Linked DNA regions of Homo sapiens: all the other regions are linked to region 1. Evidence: promoter capture Hi-C in 16 types of primary human blood cells and fetal thymus (Javierre and others, 2016). All regions are on one chromosome and are shown on one strand. The core of a region is centred on a gene start or on the middle of the fragment in contact, and the rest is flanking DNA. Distances in the headings are between cores, read along the strand shown. Region 1 holds the start of TREH (trehalase). Region 2 has its middle 4.8 kb from the start of UPK2. Region 3 has its middle 13 kb from the start of FOXR1.

What was found. Contacts are between HindIII fragments. The CHiCAGO score rates a contact against its expected background, and 5 or more counts as called.
Region 2: a fragment that was not itself captured here is called in contact with the fragment with the promoter of TREH in region 1 in 12 of 17 cell types (non-activated CD4 T cells, naive CD8 T cells, naive CD4 T cells and 9 more); the score reaches 17.1 in non-activated CD4 T cells.
Region 3: a contact is called between a fragment that was not itself captured here and the fragment with the promoter of TREH in region 1, in 1 of 17 cell types (naive CD4 T cells). The highest score is 6.4, in naive CD4 T cells.

Annotation. Positions count from the first base shown.
Region 1 is chr11:118,677,550-118,681,041 of GRCh38, reverse strand. TREH (trehalase) reads left to right here and starts at 1,392. Exons shown (of 15, transcript NM_007180.3): 1 at 1,392-1,503. The coding sequence starts at 1,415. RefSeq lists enhancers at 841-1,500, 1,501-2,162. The HindIII fragment of the contact is 8,736 bases long and covers 1-3,492 here.
Region 2 is chr11:118,949,733-118,953,226 of GRCh38, reverse strand. No RefSeq gene overlaps it. Among named protein-coding and RNA genes, the nearest start is that of UPK2, 4.8 kb to the left of the region's middle. The HindIII fragment of the contact is 6,551 bases long and covers 1-3,494 here.
Region 3 is chr11:118,983,185-118,986,254 of GRCh38, reverse strand. No RefSeq gene overlaps it. Among named protein-coding and RNA genes, the nearest start is that of FOXR1, 13 kb to the right of the region's middle. The HindIII fragment of the contact is 5,393 bases long and covers 1-3,070 here.

The DNA.
Region 1 (3,492 bases), core at 143-2,642:
TTTTTTTTTTTGAGACAGAGACTTACTCTGTCGCCCAGGCTGGAGTGCAGTGGCATGATCTCGGCTCACTACAACCTCTGTCTCCCGAGTTCAAGCGATTCTCCCACCTCAGCCTCCTGAGGAGCTGGGATTACAGGTACCCGCCATCATGCCCAGCTAATTTTTGTATTTTTGTAGAGACGGGGTTTCACCATGTTGGCCAGGCTGGTCTTGAACTCCTGACCTCAGGTGATCCACCCGCCTCGGCCTCCCAAAGTGGTGGGATTACAGGCATGAGCCACTGCACCCAGCCTGAATCTGCTTCTTAAGCTCACAAACTTCTCTGCTGGTTCCACTTTGGGGAATTACAAGGAATTACATTCCTTGGCTTGGCAAAGACCATTTCCAGACTGGTGCCAACATGTTCCTCCAGTCTATCTCAAAACCCTTCCCTGCATGAACACCAAGTTCTCTGCAGCTAGGCTGAGGGGTTTGCTCTTCTCTTCACATGCTCTGCATACATTGTAGTGGTCTCCAGCCCATTTCCCTTGGCAAACTCCTATGCGGTCATCAAGACTCATTAGGACTGGCGCAGTGGCTCACGCCTGTAATCCCAGCACTTTGGGAGGCCAAGGCGAGCAGATCATGAGGTCAAGAGATTGAGACCATCCTGGCCAACACAGTGAAACCCCGTCTCTACTAAAAATACAAAAATTAGCTGGGCGTGGTGGCGGGCACCTGTAGTCCCAGCTATTCAGGATGCTGAGGCAGGAGAATTGCTTGAACCCGGGAGGCGGAGGTGGCAGTGAGCTGAGATCACGCCACTGCACTCCAGCCTAGCGACAGAGTGAGACTCAGTCTCAAAAAAAAAAAAAAAAAGACTCATTACAAATGACACACTATTGTGGGTCTCCCTTAGTCCTCCCCAGACAGAATGGTTCTACTGTCCTGTGCTTCCGCTGTATCTCTTGCAGATAACAGTGAGAGGCCCTGAATTTCACACCACACCAGGGACAGGATCTTGAGCCATTCCATTTGAAATGTTAAGGGAAATGGTAACTCTCTGAGGTTGGTGGTCTTGGGGCCACCCAAGGAACCTGGCATCCAGGTTACAGGTGTGTGGCCTCGACTGTGTCCCTGGCCTTTGGGTGCCCACTCCCCACCCCCACCACCATGCTCTGAGGGAAGGGCCTGAGCCATTGGCACCAGCTGAGACTGTGAAATAGAAGAGGCAAAGTAGAAGCAAGGGAGGTGGCCACTGTGCCCTGAGAGCAGGAGGGGCAAGCGGGCCACACACAGACCAAGCACACGTCCCCTCAGGTGGCCACGCCTCAAAGGCTGGACTTTGGCCGACTTGGACAGGCAGGTGAGCCAGGCTGTGCCCAGCAAGCCGAAGGTGCCTGGGCTTGCTCATTCAGTCACAGTCACAGCCACCATGCCAGGGAGGACCTGGGAGCTGTGCCTGCTACTGCTGCTGGGGCTGGGACTGGGGTCCCAGGAGGCCCTACCCCCACCCTGTGAGAGGTAGGGGTGTGGGGAAGGCAGCAGGGGAGGATGGCAATAAGAGGGAGGCTGGGATGAGATCTCAAGCTCTGGGGTCGGTACTTCAGAGGGAAAGGAAGAGATTATAAAGGAAGGAAAGAGTAGGGAAGAGAAGAAAATGAGAATTCCTATGTAGCAGGCTCTGTGCTGGGCACTGCACCTGCAGTCCGTTTTTTTTGTTGTTGTTGTTAGAGTCTTGCTCGGTCGTCCAGATGGAGTACAGTGGCACCATCTCCACTCACTGCAGCCTAGACCTCCCGGGTTCGAGAGATTCTCGTGCCTCAGCCTCCTGAGTAGCTGGAATCACAGGCATGCACCACCACGCCCAGCCTGTCATTGATTTTTACCAAAATTTTCCACCGTTGGAAGGGACATTAGGCTTGGCGACTGTGCTGGGAATACAAGCGTGAGCCACCGCCCCCTGTCGGGACCTGCAGTCCTGATACCAGACGCAGCTGCCAGAGCCTGGCCTGAGGTCCAAGAGCCTGCTGGCCAGAGCCCGCCCTCCCTTCCTCTCCTCCTCCAAGCTGCCCCTTGAACTGTGCAGGCCTCTTCTCAGGATTGTTCTAGCAAACTTTCTGCTCCAGCTTCCTAGTCTGGGTGTGAGAGGCAGCCTAAGGGCCTGAAGACAGCACTTGGGCTTGAGCCCTGACCCTCATATTCTCTCTGTGACCCAGGGCAGGTCAAGGCTCTTTCCTGAGCCTGAGTTTCCATCACCAGGGACAGAGATGAGTGACCCTGTCCTGTCTCCTGGACTCAGGCGATGTCCACCCTTCGTTCCACATGGATTTATGGAGCTGTGGCCACATCAGCCACTTTACCAGCTCCTGCAAGAACAATAATAATAGAAGAAAAACAGCTGGGCACGGTGGCTCATGCCTGTAATCCCAGCACTTTGGGAGGCCAAGGTGGGAGCTATCATCTGAGGTCAGGAGTTCGAGACCAGCCTGGCCAACATGGTGAAACCCCATCTCTATGAAAAATACAAAATTAGCCGGGCATGGTGGCGCACGCCTGTAATCCCAGCTACTCGGGAGGCTGAGGCAGGAGAGTCGCTTGAACTTGGGATGTGGAGGTTGCAGTGAGCCAAGATCATGCCATTGCACTCCAGTCGGGGCAACAAGAGCAAAACTCTATCTCAAATAATAATAATAATAATAATAGAAGCAAAACAGTAACAGAAGCACAGTTTGAAGTAGAGAGAAGTTAGGGCCCGCTGGTGTGGGTGAGCAGAGGGTGTGTTAGAGAGGATGGGGAGGGACGGTGTCTCTGAGGAGGTGATGTGTAAGCAGAATTGTGGCAGGAACCATTGCTGAGCTGATCTGGGAGAGGACAGTCCAGGCATGGAAAGGGCCATGCAGAGGCCCTGACGCACTGTTCAGGGATTGGGACGAAGGCCTGTGTGATTGGGGCAGAGTGGGAACAGGTCCGGGGAGAGCGGGGCTCCAGGCAACAAGGTTTGGGCTTGGGTTCCAGTGGTTAGACTAGAGACAGAGACAAGGGGTTCAATAGAGGGTGTGTGTTACAGGGAGAGTTGACAGTGCTTGCCCATGACAATTGTGGAATATAAAGGGGAAAAGTGTACCTGGGATAATTAATAGGTTTTGTCCTGAGCAATTGTAATGAGGACTTCAGAGAGGCTGGGTGGTCCAGTGCTTTGTCAAGCATTAGGCTGTTTGCCAAATGTAGGGGAAGATGACTTTACTGGTGTTCCCTAAGACCAACCTCAGGCCAGTGATTCACTAACACTTCCAAATGGTTATACCATGATTATGGTTTCATTTTTTTTCTTTTTTTGAGACAGAGTCTCGCTCTGTCGCCAGGTTGGAGTGCAGTGGTGCAATCTCGGCTCGCTGCAACCTCCACCTTCTGGGTTCAAGCGATTCTCCTGCCTCAGCCTCCCCAGTAGCTGGGACTACAGGCACCTGCCACCACGCCCAGCTAATTTTTGTATTTTTAGTAGAGACAGAG
Region 2 (3,494 bases), core at 476-2,975, 270 kb before region 1:
TCTCCTCCTTGGATTCTTGATTCTAAACTCTCTTGAGTTCCCTCCCCTGCCTCCTCTCTTCCAAATCTCCTATTCAAGCACTCCTATTGCGTACCAACTATGTCCTTGGAACTGCACTAGCCACCAGGGATATAAAGGTAAGATAAGTCTCTGCCCTCAGGGAGCTCTTAACAGCTCTAGTCTGCTCAGCCTAGAAGACTATCTCCTAAAACAAACTTCTTTCTGGACTGTGGCACCTTTTTTTTTTTTTTTTTTTTTTCACTTGAACTATGGCAGTTCTTCAACCAGGAGAGCTGGGATCAGAACCCAGGTCCGTCTGACATGCCCAGGGTTCTCCTTCCAGAGTGCCACTCTCTGCCTCCCAGTCAATTAGAAAAACATGTCTACTTGGCTGCATGGCCATGTCAGCCTCTGATGGCAGCTACTGTCCTCTTGTTGATGAGATACCATGTAACTTTAGGTGGACTTCAATGTTCTCACATTTAAAATGGAAGACTTGGCCAGGTGCGGTGGCTCACGCCTGTAATCCCAGCAGTTTGGGAGGCCGAGGCGGGTGGATTACCTGAGGTCAGGAGTTTGAGACCAGCCTGGCCAACATGGTGAAACCCTGTCTCTACTAAAAATACAAAAATCAGCCGGGTGTGGTGATGCATGCCTGTAATCCCAGCTACTTGGGAGGCTGAGGCAGGAGAATCGCTTGAATCCAGGAGGTGGAACTTGCAGTGAGCTGAAATCATGCCACTGCACTCCAGCCTAGGCAACAGAGTGAGACTCCATCTCAATAAAATGAAATAAAAAATGGCAGACTCACCAGGCACAGTGACACATGCCTGTCATCTCAGCACTTTGGGAGGCTGAAGTAGGAGGATCACTTGGGACCTGGAGTTTGAGACCAGCCTTGTGACGCAGCAAGGCTCCATCTCTACAAAACTGAAAAAAAAATTATGGCCAGGCGCTGTGGCTCACAGCCTGTAATCCCAGCACTTTGGGAAGCCAAGGTGGGAAGATTGCTTGAGCCCAGGAGTTCAAGACCAGCCTGGGTGATATAGTGACATCTCTTCTCTATTAAAAAAAAAAAAAAAAAAGCCTGGGCACGGTGGCTCACGCCTGTAATCCCAGCACTTTGGGAGGCTGAGGCGGGCAGATTATAAAGTCAGGAGTTCGAGACCAGTCTGGCCAACATAGCGAAACCCCGTCTCTACTAAAAATACAAAAAATTAGCAGGTATGGTGGTGTGCGCCTGTAATCCCAGCTACTTGGGAGGCTGAGGCAGGGGAATTGTGTGAACCCGGGAGGCGGAGGTTGCAGTGAGCCGAGGTCCCACCATTGCACTTCAGCCTGGGTGACAGTGCGAGACCCCGTCTCAAAAACAAAAACAAAACAGGCCAGGGTGGTGGCTCACACCTGTAATCCTAGCACTTTTGGAGGCTGTGTTGGGTGGATCACCTGAGGTCAGGAGTTCAAGACCAGCCTGACCAACATGGTGAAATCCCCTCTTTACTAAATACAAAAAAGAATCACTTGAACCCGGGAGATGGAGGTTGCAGTGAACTGAGATCATGCCATTACACTCCAGCACGGGCAGCAAGAGCGAAACTCCATCTCAAAAAACAAACAAACAACAACAACAAAAAAACAATGAGCTGGGCATGGTGGCACATGCCTCCAGTCCCAGCTACTTGGGAGGCTATGGCGGGAGGATGGCTTGAGCCCAGGAGTCTGAGGCTTTGGTGAGCCATGATTGCACCACTGCACTCCAGCCTGGGTGACAGAGCTGGAAATAAAGTATATAAAGAGAAGACCCCTTCCTTACTCAGGAGGTCAAACTATGTGACAGGTGTAAAAATGGTTTAAAATAAAGGTGTGGAAGAAATGCTGGAGATCATTGTCATAATCCTAGGAACAGCCAGGGATGGGGGAGTCCTGGAGGATTGGATTTGGAGGTAAGATGCGGTGCTCACCAAATGTTGGTCCATTGGGAAGTGGTGGCACCTCTATCCTTGAGACCTGAGGCTGGAAAATGCTGTGAGGATGAGAAAATACCAGTCATTCAGGGTTGGAGGAGACTTGAATGCTCCATTTTAAAAAATGTAGCCGCCCTGCGTGGTGGCTCACGCCTGTAACCCCAACACTCTGGGAGACCGAGGAGGGTGGATCACCTGAGATCGGGAGTTCGAGACCAGCCTGACCAACATGGAGAAACCCTGTCTCTACTAAAAATACAAAATTAGCCAGGCGTGGTGGCACATGCCTGTAATCCCAGCTACTTGGAAGGCTGAAGCAGGAGAATCGCTTGAACCCGGGAGGTGGAGATTGCGCCATTGCACTCCAGTCTGGGCAACAAGAGTGAAACTGTCTCAAAAAAAAAAAAAAAAAAAAAGTAGCCTCTGATACAACCACTTACCCCAAATCTTCTTCCAGCTTTGTGACTTTTGCCAAGTTACATACCTCACTAACTGCTCTGAGCTTCAGCTTCCTCTGCTGTAAAAAGGGTATAAAACCAGGCCAGGCATGGTGGCTCATGCCTGTAACCCCAGCACTTTGGGAGGCTGAGGTGGGCAGATCACGAGGTCAGGAGTTCGAGATCAGCCTGGCCAACATGGTGAAATGCCGTCTCTACTAAAAATACAAAAAATTAGCTGGGCATGGTGGCAGGTGCCTGTAATCCCAGCTACTCGGGAGGCTGAGGCAGGAGAATTGCTTGAACCTGGGAGGCAGTAGTTGCAGTGAGCCGAGACCACGCCACTGCACTCCAGCCTGGGCAACAGAGCCAGACTCCGTCTCAAAAAAAAAAAAAAAAAAAATTAAAGGGTATAAAACCTGTCTCACAACCATCTGATCTTTGACAAACCTGACAAAAACAAGAAATGGGGAAAGGATTCCCTATTTGATAAATGGTGCTGGGAAAACTGGCTAGCCATATGTAGAAAGCGGAAACTGGATCCCTTCCTTACACCTTATACAAAAATTAATTCAAGATGGATTAAAGACATAAATGTTAGATCTAAAACTATAAAAACCCTAGAAGAAAACCTAGACAATACCATTCAGGACATAGGCATGGGCAAGGACTTCATGACTAAAACATCAAAAGCAATGGCAACAAAAGCCAAAATAGACAAATGGGATCTAATTAAACTAAAGAGCTTCTGCACAGCAAAGAAGCTACCATCAGAGTGAACAGGCAACCTACAGAATGGGAGAAAATTTTTGCAATCTACCCATCTGACAAAGGGCTAATATCCAGAATCTACAAAGAACTTAAACAAATTTACAAGAAAAAAACCCCATCAAAAAGTGGGCAAAGGATATGAACAGACACTTCTCAAAAGAAGACATTTATGCAGCCAACAGACATGAAAAATGCTCATCATCACTGGCTATCAGAGAAATGCAAATCAAAACCACAATGAGATACCATCTCACACCAGTTAGAATGGCGGTCATTAAAAAGTCAGGAAACAACAGATGCTGGAGGGGATGTGGAGAAATAG
Region 3 (3,070 bases), core at 399-2,898, 300 kb before region 1:
GAGCAAAGTGGGCAAAGGCAGATTTTTTCTTAGTAAACGCTGTATTGTTTTGTACTTTCTTTCTGATCTGCTGCATTTTGGGATCCACTTGCAACTTAAACCTGATGTTGGCCAGGTGTGGTGGCTCACACCTGTAATCTAGTACTGTTGGAGGCCGAGGCGAGTGGATTGCCAGAGCTCAGGAGTTTGAGACCAGCCTGGGCCACATGATGAAACTTCGTCTTTAGTAAAATACAAAAATTAGCCAGATACGGTGGTGCACGCCTGCAGTCCCAGCTGCTTGGGAGGCTGAGGCAGGAGAATCGCTTGAACCTGGGAGGCGGAAGTTGCAATGGGATGAGATTGCTCCATTGCACTCCAGCCTGGGCAACAGGGTGAGACTCCATCTCAAAAAACAAAAACAAAGCAAAAAAATCCCTGATGTTAACAAGAATGTGCACAGCGATAAGGCTGTATACGAAGTGCAGATGATGGGGACAAATTGAGGCCAAATCAGATGAAAGCAGAGCTTGGGACTCAGGACCCCTCCTTCCTGGGAGCTGAATAGACTCGGGTGGCAGGAAAGAGGCTCTGGCTGCCGGATAGCTCTGGGTGGGCCCAGAGCAAATGACCTGACCTGGTCCCCCTCACCCACTCCTGCAGTGGCTATCACTTAGAAATCAGCATCCAGGCTGGGTGCGGTGGCCACGCCTGCAATCCCAGCGCTTTAGGAGGCCGAGGCAGGTGGATCACCTGAGGTCAGGAGTTTGAGACCAGCCTGAACAATACGGTGAAACCCCATCTCTACTAAAAATACAAAAAATTAGCCGATGTGGTGGCGGGCGTCTGTAATCCCAGCTACTCGGGAGGCTGAGGCAGGAGAACTGCTTGAACCCAGGAGGTGGAGGATTGCTTGAGTCCAGGAGTTCAAGGCTGCACATGAACTGTGATTGTGCCACTGAAGGGCCCTATCTCAAAGACAAAACGAAAAATAAATAAAAATTTAAATGAGGAGGCGGGAGCTACATCAGATTGGAGTTACCAGCAAGGAAAGCAGGGAGGAAAAATGAAAAAGTGAGACTACCTCAACCCTGGTCAGTTGCAGAGACCTGGGAGCCCTCTGGACAAGGGAGCCACTCTCTCAAGAGTGAAGCACCACCCACTGCCACTTCAAGACAGGAGTTATGCCCAGCCCAGGTGGGCAGTGGTGGCCTTGAAGGCAGAGCTTTGTTTCTGTGCAGGCCTGTTGGGCAGGAGGGAAGAGCGGAGAGGGAGTGAGATCTGGCATCGTCTCTAAGCACTGAGTGTCTGTGGGATCCCTAAACAGCCCTGAACCTCACTCATTCCTTCCTTGTCCTCAGGCTTCTCCCTATTCCCCACAGATCTAAGGCTGCCAGCTGTCCCTGCCCTGAGGCTGTCCCCTGCAACCAGGGAGGCCACAGCCCCCCAGCTGGGACCTGCAGCCTCAAGGACTCTTATTCCACAAGTAGCTTTTCCTGAGGGTGTGCTGGAGACAAACAGCATGGCGAAGGGTAATGAAACTCAGGCCCTATTTTTCTTTTGAGACGAAGTCTCCCTCTGTCACTCAGGCTGGAGTGCAGTGGCGTGATCTCTGCTCACTGCAACCTCCACCTCCTGGGTTCAAGTGATCTTCCTGCCTCAGTCCCCGAGTAGCTGGGATTACAGGCTTGTGCCCCACGCCTGGCTAATGTATTTTTAGTAGAGACGGGGTTTCACCACGTTGACCAGGCTGGTCTCCAACTCATGACCTCAGGTGATCCGCCTGCCTTGGCATCCCAAAGTGCCAGGATGACAGGCATGAACCACTGTGCCCGGCCTGAGAGAGGAAGATTTTTCTACAGAAGTATTTCAGCTAATAAGCTAAGAAAATAGAAAATTAGGGCCAGGCACAGTGGCTTACACCTGTCATCCCAGCACTTTGGGAGCCCAGGAGTTTAAGACCAGCCTTGGCAACATAGGGAGACCTCATCTCTAAAAGAAATAAAAATTTTAAAAAGTTAGAAAATTAGGAATATGATTCCTAATACATTTTTAAAAATTTTGGATGTGATTTTTTTTTTTTTTGAGACGGAGTCTTGCTCTGTCGCCCAGGCTGGAGTGCAGTGGCACGATCTCAGCTCACTGTAAGCTCCGCCTCTCAGGTTCATGCCATTCTCCTGCCTCAGCCTCCCAAGCAGCTGGGACTACAGGCGCCCGCCACCACGCCCAGCTAATTTTCTATATTTTTAGTAGAGACAGGGTTTTACCGTGTTAGCCAGGATGGTCTCGATCTCCTGACCTTGTGATCCGCCCACCTCGGCCTCCCAAAGTGCTGGGATTACAGGCTTGAGCCACTGCGCCCGGCCTGGATGTGATGATTGTATCATGTTCAGTCTTTTTAGAGAAAAGAAATGATGTCTAGAAATTGATTCAAAATAATCCAGGGAGGCCAAGGCAGGTGGATCACTTGAGGTCAGGAGTTCAAGACCAGCTTGGGCAACATGGTGAAACCCTCTATTAAAAATACAGAAATTAGCTGGGCGTGGTGGCGCTCACCTGTAATTCCAACTACATGGTAGGCTGAGGCAGGAGAATTGCTTGAACCCGGGAGGCGGAGGTTGCAGTGAGCCGAGATAGTGCCACTGCATTCCAGTCTGGGTGACAGAGTGAGACTCCGTCTCAAACACACACACACACACACACACACACACACACACACACACACACACACACACACAATAATTCCAGGAAAGGGGAATGAATGTGTTAATAACATTGCCTGTGGGGAGATGAAGCTGGATGACAGATATGTAGGGTTCATTAGACCGACTTTGTATGTGTTTGAAATCTTCAGTCAACAAAATATCAGTTGGCTAGTGCCTGTAATCCCAGCACTTTGGGAGGCTGAGGCAGGCGGATCACAACGTCAGGGCGATCGAGACCAACCTGGCCAACATGGTGAAACCCCGTATCTACTAAAAATAGAAAAATTAGTGGGGCCTGGTGGCCATGTGCCTGTAATCCGAGCTACTTGCTAGGCTGAGACAGGAGAATCGCTTGAACCCGGTAGGCGGAGGTTGCAGTGAGCCGA